3 separate regions of the Homo sapiens genome follow, and all the other regions are linked to region 3. Evidence: promoter capture Hi-C in 16 types of primary human blood cells and fetal thymus (Javierre and others, 2016). All regions are on one chromosome and are shown on one strand. Each heading gives the region's core, a stretch centred on a gene start or on the middle of the fragment in contact. The rest is flanking DNA. Distances are from core to core; before and after follow the strand shown. Region 1 holds the start of INO80D (INO80 complex subunit D). Region 2 holds the start of CREB1 (cAMP responsive element binding protein 1). Region 3 holds the start of NABP1 (nucleic acid binding protein 1).

What was found. Contacts are between HindIII fragments. The CHiCAGO score rates a contact against its expected background, and 5 or more counts as called.
Region 1: a contact is called between the fragment with the promoter of INO80D here and the fragment with the promoter of NABP1 in region 3, in 1 of 17 cell types (total CD8 T cells). The highest score is 8.5, in total CD8 T cells.
Region 2: the fragment with the promoter of CREB1 here is called in contact with the fragment with the promoter of NABP1 in region 3 in 2 of 17 cell types (naive CD8 T cells and total CD4 T cells); the score reaches 7.9 in naive CD8 T cells.

Annotation. Positions count from the first base shown.
Region 1 is chr2:206,084,140-206,087,710 of GRCh38, forward strand. It overlaps INO80D (INO80 complex subunit D), which reads right to left and starts at 2,035. Exons shown (of 11, transcript NM_017759.5): 1 at 1,762-2,035. It overlaps INO80D-AS1 (INO80D antisense RNA 1), which reads left to right and starts at 516. Exons shown (of 2, transcript NR_186084.1): 1 at 516-609; 2 at 1,818-3,365. RefSeq lists enhancers at 1-153, 1,782-2,071, 1,798-2,617, 2,122-2,171, 2,182-2,291 and silencers at 766-1,060, 962-1,011, 1,052-1,251, 1,272-1,441, 1,522-1,731. The HindIII fragment of the contact is 4,007 bases long and covers 1-3,127 here.
Region 2 is chr2:207,528,196-207,531,930 of GRCh38, forward strand. CREB1 (cAMP responsive element binding protein 1) reads left to right here and starts at 1,767. Exons shown (of 8, transcript NM_004379.5): 1 at 1,767-1,939. LOC124907970 (a long non-coding RNA gene) reads right to left here and starts at 1,402. Exons shown (of 3, transcript XR_007088060.1): 1 at 1,241-1,402; 2 at 322-418. RefSeq lists silencers at 1,136-1,315, 1,986-2,115, 2,146-2,195, 2,906-3,075 and enhancers at 1,336-1,535, 1,796-1,895, 3,484-3,735. The HindIII fragment of the contact is 5,804 bases long and covers 47-3,735 here.
Region 3 is chr2:191,675,902-191,679,529 of GRCh38, forward strand. NABP1 (nucleic acid binding protein 1) reads left to right here and starts at 2,235. Exons shown (of 6, transcript NM_001031716.5): 1 at 2,235-2,804; 2 at 3,089-3,227. The coding sequence starts at 2,714. RefSeq lists silencers at 1-136, 1,927-2,276, 2,877-2,936 and enhancers at 84-193, 1,787-1,866, 2,076-2,578, 3,406-3,628. The HindIII fragment of the contact is 1,958 bases long and covers 697-2,654 here.

The sequences.
Region 1 (3,571 bases), core at 785-3,284, about 14 Mb after region 3:
CAGAAAACATACGTGTGTGTGTATGAATATATATGTGTTTATATATGCATATAAAATATATACATACACATATATTTTTTTTTCGTTTAAATGTTATACATACACACACACACACACACACACACACACACACACCCCAAAACCAAAGTAGTTTTGCTAGGTTCCGAGGGCTCTTCCACAGACCCTTCTGAGTTGTAGCAATAACAAGTTTAGGTTTCCTTAAAATCTCCATTACTCTATTTCTAGGTCGAATACAAGAATGTCACATAAAACTAAACAGTGATTATCAGAATAAATGAACTACTGATCCTTAAACTGTAGACCTTGTTTCGGGAGCTGCCCTGCCCACTTCCTCTCCCTCCTCCCAATCCCGGAGGCTTCCAAGCCATCTGACAACCACGTCTCCCCCTTGGGATCTGTTCCGGTGTTGGTTTTACCGGACAGTGACCAAAAAGGAGGGGAAACTCCTACATCTGGGGACTGCTCCAGAAACCCTGCCTGATCCTGCCCCTCTCACTGACAGTCTCCTCGCTGCTCCCTACATCTTCCTCTCCGCCGGAGCTGTCCAGAAGGGGGATTTTGGACCCAAAGGAATCGGGATGAAAGGGGGTGGGTACTCAAGCTGAAAATAACACCCCCAGTTGGTGGGGTAAGGGCTAAAAAAGGCAATAGGGAAAGATTGTCCGGCAGAAACACCACCTGAGTTTACCTCCTCCTTCCCACCCCAAAAACCCAGTCACTAACTAATAAAGCTAAGAAAAGCCCCTTGCAAACTTTTCCAAACCGGAAGAGAAGGCCCTCTCCCCAACCTGGGGGGCTCTAGGGGGAAGGGGCTGGAGTTAGCAGCCCCGAATGGGCTCGCGGGGAGTTGGGTGGGGCGCGGGCGAGGGGTGCAGGGGCGGAGTACCTTCTTCAATGGACAGGAACTGGCAAAGAGTTTCAAAATAGCCGAGTGCGCTCCCCCACGCCCTGGGGGGTCCCGGGCGCTAGGACCAGGGCTCCCCGGAGAGACAGCGGCCCCCAGTTCGGGCCTAAAAGGAAACTTTCTGGGCCGCGGCTGCACCTGACTCCTCACCGCCCCTCCACCCGACCCCACGCCCGCCAGGCCGCCCGCCCCGCCCCGCCCCGGCCTGGCCGTCCGGAGCGCGGAGGAGGGGGATAAATAAATTCAACTCTTACCGGAATCTGGGGGCCGTCTGCGAGAGACCCGGGGGAAGGGGAGCCGGGCGCCCATTCCCCACTCCCCACTCCTAGGCCCTGACGCCCCTGTCCCGGCAGCCCGGGCCTGCCGCCCCGCGGGAAAGCCTCCGGGCCGGCGCGGGATTCGGCCCAGCAGCGCCGCCGTCCCACCCGGAGACCCCGGGGGACTCGAGGGGGCGCGCGGAGGCCCGGGGTGCGGGGGCAGGGCGCGGCTGCCGTGGGGCCTACCGGCCCGAGGCCTACCGGCGCCCCCCCCTCCCGCCGCACACCCCCACCTGGCCCGCGCAGGCCGCTCCGCTCGCCCCACTCCGGCTCCGGCTGGACCCCTGCCCGCCCGCCGTCGCCGCCCGCGGGCGCCCCGGAGGCCCTCAGGCCCCCGGCCTCCACCACCCGGGCGCCGGCCCCACTCACCCTTTCATTCTCCGCCCGGGGCCTGGCGTGGGCCGGCGAATCCCCGGCCTCACGTAAGCGCGCTCGCCGCCCGCCCAGCCTGCGCGGCCCAGCCCGCCGCCCTACGGGAGCCCGGGGATGTGGGCCGGGCCTGGGGCCGCCTCTGCTTACCTTTCAGCTGCTTTTTTTTTTCTCCTTCCCCCCTGTTCCCTCGGCTGGGCTGACAGATCAGAGTGAGAGGCGCTGGCAATGGACTAGGAAGCTCGGCTGCCGCTGCTACTGCTCCCCCCTGGGCTCCGGCGAGAGCCTTTCCCTGTCAAGCAAGAGGGGTGAGGATCATATTTTTATTTTGGAAACTAAAAAGTGCTCCCAGGGTCGGTGATTATTAAGGGGAAATCCCTGAATATACTCTCCAGCCAAGAAGGCAGGGCTGCCGGGGCTGTACAAGAAGAGGCAGCAGCCTCCTACAGCACCACTACAGGCACTGCGAGGACATAACACCAGAGAGCTGCTCCTCTGCCCTCCGAAACGACAACTTTCCTACCATCTTGGAGGCAGAGCAAAGGGGGGCCAGGGGGAAAAGTGCACCCGCTCCCGATAAAGTACAAATTTTTACTTCTCATCTCTGGAAAAAAGTCCACACCGGCCGTCTACACCCGCGCCTGGGGGAGAAAGCAGGGAAGAAACGGGGGGTGCATGAGAAACGTTTTCATTTGCTCCAGGGGGAAAAATGTTTCTGCATCTTCTGATGGAAAGAAATCTTTACAAGACACAGGTTTTCCGGTGGTTATTGTTTTTTATTTTCTGTTTTTAATTTTTTTCATGTTAGTGACAGTGATATTTTAATATTTTTTTAAGCCAGTAATAATTTTTCTCCATTACAGGGCTAAGTTCTGTGGCTGGTGGTCAGTTTGTAAATTTATACTTAAAGAGACTTAATAGTAACTTCATTTATTTGTCTGGTTATGTTATTGTATATATAAATATTTATGTTTTCATATATTGCATATAAAAATTTGTGTTACATGTTACTCTCAGAACAGATTGCTGTAAGACAATTGTAAAAAAACATGTCTTTCGTCTGTTTCTCAAAGCAATGTAAATAAAACCTATGGACTGTCCAGAAAGGCATGATACAGTGTGTCATTTTCCACAGTGCAGATAAAGGCAGCTATCACTGGGGATTTAAAAACGGCCCCTGTTTCTGGAAATTCTGTTATGCTGCCCATACAGAAAGGATACAGTAAAACTGGAAAGAGATTTTAAAGACAGCCTTAGATTTTTCTTGAGGTAAAATAGCTTATTAAGAATTATATCCGGGCATTTAATTTTTTTATTTATTTAGATTCTTTAAACTCTAGCTAGATCTTTGGTGCATTACACATGTTGCTATCTGCTTTTTGTGTCACAGAATTGAGAAATGTGGCTATTTTTGTTAGTTATGTTAGTTCAGAACTTCCAATGTGCTGCCAGCCTGTATGATAGACTTTTTGTATATTGCAGTGGATGTCATGAATTTACTTTTTTAAATGAGCAAAGCTTACTAGATAAATGGGATCAGAGTTAAACAATGCTGTTAGCACAGAGGTGAGAGGGACAAAGGGTACCCATTTACATCGATTCCAATAGAACGCTTATTGGAGGATAAATTGCAGAGACATTTTTCTATTTTTGTGAAGAAAGAGAAAAATAATAGAAAAAGAACCGACTATCTTTGTATGTTCTACTGGGGATGATGATTTAAATCTTGTATTAAAAGTTATTTTTCTAACACATGTTGACTAACCTGGCAGGAATGAATTTGTTATATTAGTGCCCTGAATCAGTAGAATATTTAATTTCTTTGTAAAATTTATTACACAACATTTAGAAATAACTTCCAAATTTAGAAATTGTCCTGATTTAAAAGTGAGTTCATGTAATGCATATATCGGATATTTATTAGTTTCTAGCTGAACCTTATCTTTATCATATAACTTTG
Region 2 (3,735 bases), core at 517-3,016, about 16 Mb after region 3:
TTGTAAAATGAGGACTGAAAATGATCCGCTGCATTTACAGTCATGAAGCTTGTCTGTGGACAATTCAGAGCCACTTCAGGTGAGCGGTGGGGACACTGGAGAGGGCTGGGAGGTGGGACATGAAAGACTGTCCATGGGGTAAGAGACAGCTGCAGTTGTTGGAGAGCAATTTAGGGAGAAGAGAAATCTTTTTAAAGAATTGAAAGACTTAAGCATGTTTAAATACCAGTAAGAAAGAGCCGGTAGAGAAGGAAAGGTTGAGAGTAACAGAAGGAAAGGAGACTCGTTAAGGGCAAAGTCCATAAGAAAACAGTAGGGTACCTGGAGTACCAGGAAGGACAACTCTTTCTTTACAAGAGAAGTGAGTCATGGGCGGAGTCCAGAATCGAACCCTCTCTGCTTCCTAAAGACACGTCTCCTTTAAAGGACAGAAAAAGAATGATTAAGACTTGAGGCCGGGCGCGGTGGCTCATACGTGTAACCCCACCACTTTAGGAGGCCGAGGCGGGTGGATTACCTGAGGTCAGGAGTTCCATACCAGCCTGGCCAACATGGTGAAACCCCGTCTCTACTAACAACACAAAAATTAGCCAGGTGTGGTGGCAGGTGCCTGTAATCCCAGCTACTAGGGAGGCTGAGGCAGGAGAATCGCTCGAAACCGGGAGGCGGAGGTTGCAGTGAGCCGAGATCGTGCCACTGCACTCCAGCCTGGGCGACAAGGGCTAGACTCCGTCTCATTAAAAAAAAAAAAAAAAAAAAAAAGACTTGAAACCCCAAGGAGAGGGCTGCAGAGTTCACTATCAAGGAGAATGGGGACCTAGTGGTGCCGTCCTGAGAGACCTCTGAAAGAACAATTCAGTAGTTTCCAGCCACGGAAGTCCCCCTGCTGGGTTTAGGGTGCAGTGGGTGCGAATCCCTGCTGTAGAAAACAGGCTGAGGAAAGAAAGCGACACAGGATGTTGTCTGGAGAAAGGCGGGGAGGTAGGATGGGGCATATTTCCAGGGGTCCGGGCAGGTTGTGTGGCTTGGAGGCCTCCGAGGGCCGTCGACGTCAGCCATGGTCCGGGCAGAGCCCCGCAAGGTGCCACAGTATCGGGGCCAGCGCCCCCCGGAAAAGCATGCTCCGCTGGCGGCCGCCAGGTTTCTCCGCGGAGTCTCGGAAAGGAAAACCCGTCCCCACGGGGGTCCCACGACGCCCCCGGGTCCCAGGCCCCGGGACGTTGGCAGAGGCGCAGCAGACCTTCTTCCCCAGCCCGCACGGCTCCAGCGGTCCGGCCGCGTCCCAGCCCGGGCTGCCCGTCCCCCGTCTCCCGGCGGCGTCGGAAAGTTCCCGGGGCTGGCGGCGGTCAAGAGCAGAGCCAGGGCAGCCGCAGCCGCCTTCTAGCCCGCCGCTCACCGCCGCAGGGGCAGGCCTGAGCGGGGGTTTCCACCAAGTCGCCGACACCCCTCGGGAATTCCCCCACTGGGCCACACACAAACCCCGCTTCCTCCTTCAAATTTCCGCTGCCGGCTTTACCGATGCGAAAGCCGCGGTGGAGTTTAGACCACTCCTCCCGGCGCCGGGCTCAGCCCGCCTTCGCCTTCCCTCTCCCCGCGGAACCCCTTCTCGTCGCCCGAAGAAACCCGAAGGTCTTCGGCAAGTTCCGTCCCCAGCGCGGGGGCGGGGCCGCTCGAGCTGCTCCGGGCCTAGCTCGGCTGTTTCCGTGCGCGGCCGCTGCGCACTCGGCACTGGGCGGCGCTGGCTGGCTCCCTGGCTGCGGCTCCTCAGTCGGCGGCGGCTGCTGCTGCCTGTGGCCCGGGCGGCTGGGAGAAGCGGAGTGTTGGTGAGTGACGCGGCGGAGGTGTAGTTTGACGCGGTGTGTTACGTGGGGGAGAGAATAAAACTCCAGCGAGATCCGGGCCGTGAACGAAAGCAGTGACGGAGGAGCTTGTACCACCGGTAAGAGGAGCAGGAGGAGGAGGCAGGAGCCAGAGAGAGCCGGGGGGACGGAGGGGGGACGGGGAGGCGCCGGACACCCGCGCTTGGGGCCTTCCCCTCGCAGGAGGGGCCGCGGTAAAGATGGAGCCTCCGCCCGAGCCCCACAACATCGCCGCCGCTCGCAGCGAACAAAGAATAATGGCGGCGGACTGGAGCCAGCGGCGGCCGGGGCGGCAGCGACTCTGCCTGCAGCCAGCGGCGGCGCTCATGGCGGGGGGCGGCGGGCGGCGGGCGGCGGGCGGGGTGGGAGCCGGCGGCCGGGGGTGTGTGCGGGCGGCCGGCCGCGGCGAGCTGGCGCCCGCGTTCCCGCCGCCGCCGCCGGGCCGGGCGCGGAGCCGGGAACCCGGAGCCGCCCCGGGGGAGGCCGCCCGCTCGGCCCGGCGCTGCCCCCCGCGCCGCTCGCTCGTCCGGCCCCCGCCGCCCGCCTCGCCCCCGGCCCGACCCGGCCGGGCCTCCGGGGCAGCCGCCGCCTAGGTGCCGGTGGGGGATGGAGGAGGAAGAAGGCGACAGTTGAGGGCAGAGGAGGTGAAGGTGCCTGCTGCCTTCCCGGTGGCTTCGGTGCCTGCCATGCCCGCTTCGCAAGGGGAAGAGCTGCAACGTCTGACCTACTCTTCTCTCCACTCTTTGTGCAATAAAGTTCGAAACCCAAGGTTTCCTCTCGTGCTGTATTTTATTCGTGCCCTTTCCCCCCCGCTCCTACACCGTTGAGGAAATGCTGCTTTCTGCCCTGTGTTGCTTAGTTGAGAGATGAGAGCTTGTGCTTTTGGGGGGAATTTTTGACTCCCTCACCCCTTTGCTTTTTTTTTTTTTTTAAAGTCAGTCATGGAAATGCATGCTTTTTGGGAGAAAGGGTGCTAAGAAAAACATTTATAATAACTTTTTAAACTGTTGGGATCTTATAAAAGGGAAGCTGGTGTTTGAAAACAGTTTCGGTTTTAACCCTTTTTAATAAGGTAATCATCACTTGAGATCTATCATTCTGAAACACTTCGTTGGAACGAGTATCAGCCGATGTACTCTTGTTTTACATCATTTCGCGGGGTGCAACCTTGCCAACCGCGTTTGGGTCATCTGGATCTCCCCTCACCCTCCGTCCCACTCCCCCTACCATATTTCCCACGAATTTCTGTGTGAACTTTAATGAGAGATTGATTTAATACTACTACTAAAAATAGACATTAAAGTATCCATTATTTGTCTCATGCAGTAGGTAACCCCCGTCTTGAGATTGACAATTTAAGCCACAAGCTGTATTTTTTCTTCGCCTGTTGGGAAAAGAGGACAGCAGAAAAGTCATTGACACATTAAAAATTAAAAGACAGTTTTTGAAGGACGTGCGGTATGACCTATTTAAGTTTGTAATACCATCTCAAGTTATAATTCTAACCTCAGCTGGCGTCTAACTTCTGAAGGTTTAGTAGAAGATACTTTTGATTGCTGCCTATTGAAATCTTTTACATTTATGGCTCATTTCGTGATTTAAAAGTAAAGCCCCGAACAGTTATTTTAGGTGGTGCAAAAGACGAACAAGTTTGTTTTAAAAATACTTGTCTGTCACTGTATGATTGCATTGTGATTGATACGTACAAACCTTCTGGTTAAGAACAAATATTGATTGGCAGCAGAAGCACTGTCTTATTTTTCTGTATTCTAGTCACTTTTCCAAAACGTGCTTTGCTGTATTGCTTCTCTTTAAAAGACCACATTGGCAATTTGTCATTTCCAAGAAAATTAAGAAGAGGCAATAAAGGCAGGTT
Region 3 (3,628 bases), core at 985-3,484:
ATTGCCCAGACCATCTTGTTTCTCAAGGCTGCCTTTCGTTTTGGTTAATGAGAAAGCATATGGTTGCCATTTCCTTTCTGAGAACTGCTGAGTTAGTAGGGAAGGAAGTAGATGTTCAGCTGAGTTCTGTCCTGTGGGGGAAGGGAAGGGCTGAGCCACAGCTTGGAGTACCAGCTTCTGCTTTTGTGGGGCTTGATTTTCTGTGTCTGATTTCTTTTTATAAAATGTTCATATAATTAGCCTGAACAGCCCAACCTAATCCCTTTTCTGGGGGCAAATGATTGAGAGTTGAGTGGCAAACTTTCTTTGCCCAAACTCTTGGCCGTAACTCTTAACATTCTTAATTGGTTTCCTGTCTATTCTTAATCTTTTGAAGATCTTGTCAAACCTTAAAAAAAAAAAAAAAGAGCTCTGCCTTAAATATTGCTTCTGTGAGAATATTTTGCCTGTTTAAGAAAATACAGCTTTGAGTACAATCCAATTGAAGTGTCAAGTCCTGCCAGATAACCATGGTAGAATTAGAGCTTCTGAGCTGGATTGGGATTGAGGTTGGACGCTGGCTCTGCCATTAACTGGCATGTTTCATCATTTGTTTTATTTGATGTTGAAATTATGCTTATAATTTTATTTTACACCACTTTCCAGTATGACATCAGTGTCTTTGGCACCTTGGGCTTTATTAGTTCATGAAATGGAAGCTTCTGTTTCCTTAAAAATGCCTTGACTCTCTTGCTAATGTTGTGATAATGTTTCCAACTCTTTCTAGGGCTATAATATCTATGCTGCTTGTTTGCAAATACTTGGGAAGTGGTGGTTGATCTAAAGATACTCAGAAAGAATGGGGAGAAAATTAAGGCTTCTGACACTTTTCCCAACATTTCTGTTATCATCACCAAGAATTAACTAGATGATTCTTTAATGCCCCACTACTTTATTCTGCTATTTTATTTCTTCAGTCTGTTTTTGACTCTTATAATGACACCACTGGAAGTTAAGTCTAAACATTACCTTTAGGCTGGAGAGCTCTGGGGTCAAGATTGACTAGATTTAAAACCCAGCTCAGCCATTCTCTAGCTATCTGGTCTCTGGTGAGTTCCATCGCCTGTAAAACGGGGATTAAAAAGGGGAAAATACTGAGTATGTACTATTTGCTAGGCACTAGTTGGACAATTTATGATCCATTTAATCAATCTTCTGCTAGGCAGGGATCCCCATTTTATTATGGTTAAAAAGCTGTAATAAAAGCCAATTGACCTAAAGCTCTCACAAGTAAATAGCTGGAGCCCAGGTTTGTCTCTAAAGCACATGCTCTTTTCACTACGCGACATAAAAAAAACTTTATTAATCTTTTTTTCCAGATTATGTTTCAAGGGTTCCCACTGCTGTTGAATAATTAATTCCTTTTAGATGTACAAAAGCAAGTGCAAAGTAAAAGAAGAAAAGCTAAATGGGGAAGGTGTGTAATATGAGAGGCAGGGGGTAAGGAAAAATGAGAAGTCTGCAAAGGAATTTACGTCCTATCTGCTTAGCATTACACAGTGGAAGCCCACGTCAGACATTTGTGTTGCAGTCCTGCCTGCTCAGGGGTTGCTGGGTGACCTTCTGCAAATTACCTCATCTTTCTGGGTTTCAATTTAAGTATGCCTGAAATGAGGCGGTTGAATTGATCTCCAAATTCCCTTCTGGTGCTAAACTTCCAGCCTTGTAGCCACTGACGCCTTCACCATCCCAGCCTGTTTTCCCTTGGTACCGGACCAGCTGCCCTTGCCCGAACCCTGTTCTTCCTCGACTGCGAACTTTCTAACGTACTCACAGGTTCTAAACTCTACCGTTCCTCGTGACCGAGGGACTAAAGGGCCCGGGCAGGGGCTCAACTCTGAGAGAAAAAAAGGCAAGAAAACTCCAAAGTTGGACAGCAAGCGTCAAAAGACTGCACAGCAGGAAGGCGAAACCGAACAGAACTGCTGCTGCGCGGCGACAGCTGAAGTGGGTGGAGAACGGGAGGGCGGGGGAGGCGGGGCCGAGAGCGATTGGAAGGACGAGGGGGCGGAGCCCGCGCTGACAGCCCCCGGGGAGGAGCGAGGGAAGCTCTGCGGGCTGCGGCGGCCGGGTCCCGCCCCTTTGCTTCCCCTCCCCAGCACCAGGCGGGCGTGGCAGCAGGCGTGCCGACGCAGCGTGACTTCACAAGGGGAGGGGCGGGCCGAGGGTCCTGCCGGCGCGCGGGCGTGTTCATCAGTCGCTGTTTGGGACGCTGGGTGTGCGGTGTTCTGTCTCCGCTCCCGTTTCGCTGTCACAGCCCGTTCCTTCCCGGAGCCCGGGACAGGCTGGGCGCGCGCCCGTGTGAGTGAGCGGGACTCAGGGCAGAAGTGTCCCCTCACTGCGTTTTTTTTTCCTTTTATCCAAAGAACGGGGCAGTTAGTACGCTTGCCTTCCTGTCGCCCGGTTGGGAGCGGGGTTGGTGTGCGGAGTGGTTCGCCTTTTTTTCTTTAGAACTTGTGAGCCTTTTTTTTTTTTTTTTTTTTTTTTCTTTTTTTAGGCTCAGTGCTGTCCGGGCTGGTTTGCCCGGTCCCTGACTAACGGCTTTCTGCCCCTTCTCTCGCCACCCCTGCCCAAGGTCGCCCCTCTGCCTTCGCCCCTGTCCCGGGAGGGTGGGAAGCTTTGACCCCGCCCTGCCCACTCGCGTCTCCGCAGCCGTAGCCGCGCCTGTCCCAATATGAATAGGGTCAACGACCCACTTATTTTTATAAGAGATATTAAGCCCGGACTGAAAAACTTAAATGTCGTCTTTATTGTCCTGGAGATAGGTAAGTGGGGTTTGCAGCCTACTCCACCGCCCGCTGTGCCTCCCGGGGCGGGAGACAGGGGCGCCGGCCGCTGCGCGCCCGGGGCTCCCCTCCTCCTCCCTCCCCTCCCCCACCCACGTGGCTCTAGTGGCCTCCGCCCGAGATCGGATCCTACCTGAGGCGGGAGCCCTGGGCTTGGTCACTTCCCACCTTCCAGATGTATTAAAATACCGGAGGAGGAGTTAGCCTTTCTGGATGTCCTCATTATCTAACAACCCCTCCCTTTGATTTTTAAATCCTCACAGGACGCGTGACCAAAACCAAAGACGGCCATGAAGTGAGATCGTGCAAAGTAGCAGATAAAACGGGCAGCATCACTATTTCCGTGTGGGATGAGATCGGAGGTCTTATACAGCCAGGGGATATTATTCGGTTGACCAGAGGGTAGGTGTGCAAAAAAGTCGGGGGACCTAACAGTCTGCAGAATCGGGATTGGCCGGCTCCTGGGATCTTGGCAAGCCCTGAAGTCCCCCGCCTTTTCTGTGGGCCACTCTTGAGGAGTTTTGAACTCCTTTGGTGTTAACTTTGGGTGGTGGGCAGCGCTGGGATGTAACAGACCTTTGCAGTGAAAGGCAGTCGGTTTCAGCTGGGAAATCCGCGCCTCTACCCCGGTTTACAGGTTAAGTAGATTTTTAATTATTATTATTTTTTGGGACCGAGTCTCGCTCTGTCGCCAAGCTGGAGTGCAGTGGCGTGATCTCTCCTCACTGCAGCCTCCGCCTCGCGGGTTCAAGAGATTCTCGTGCCTCAGCCTCCCAAGTAGCTGGGACTACAGGCGTGTGCCA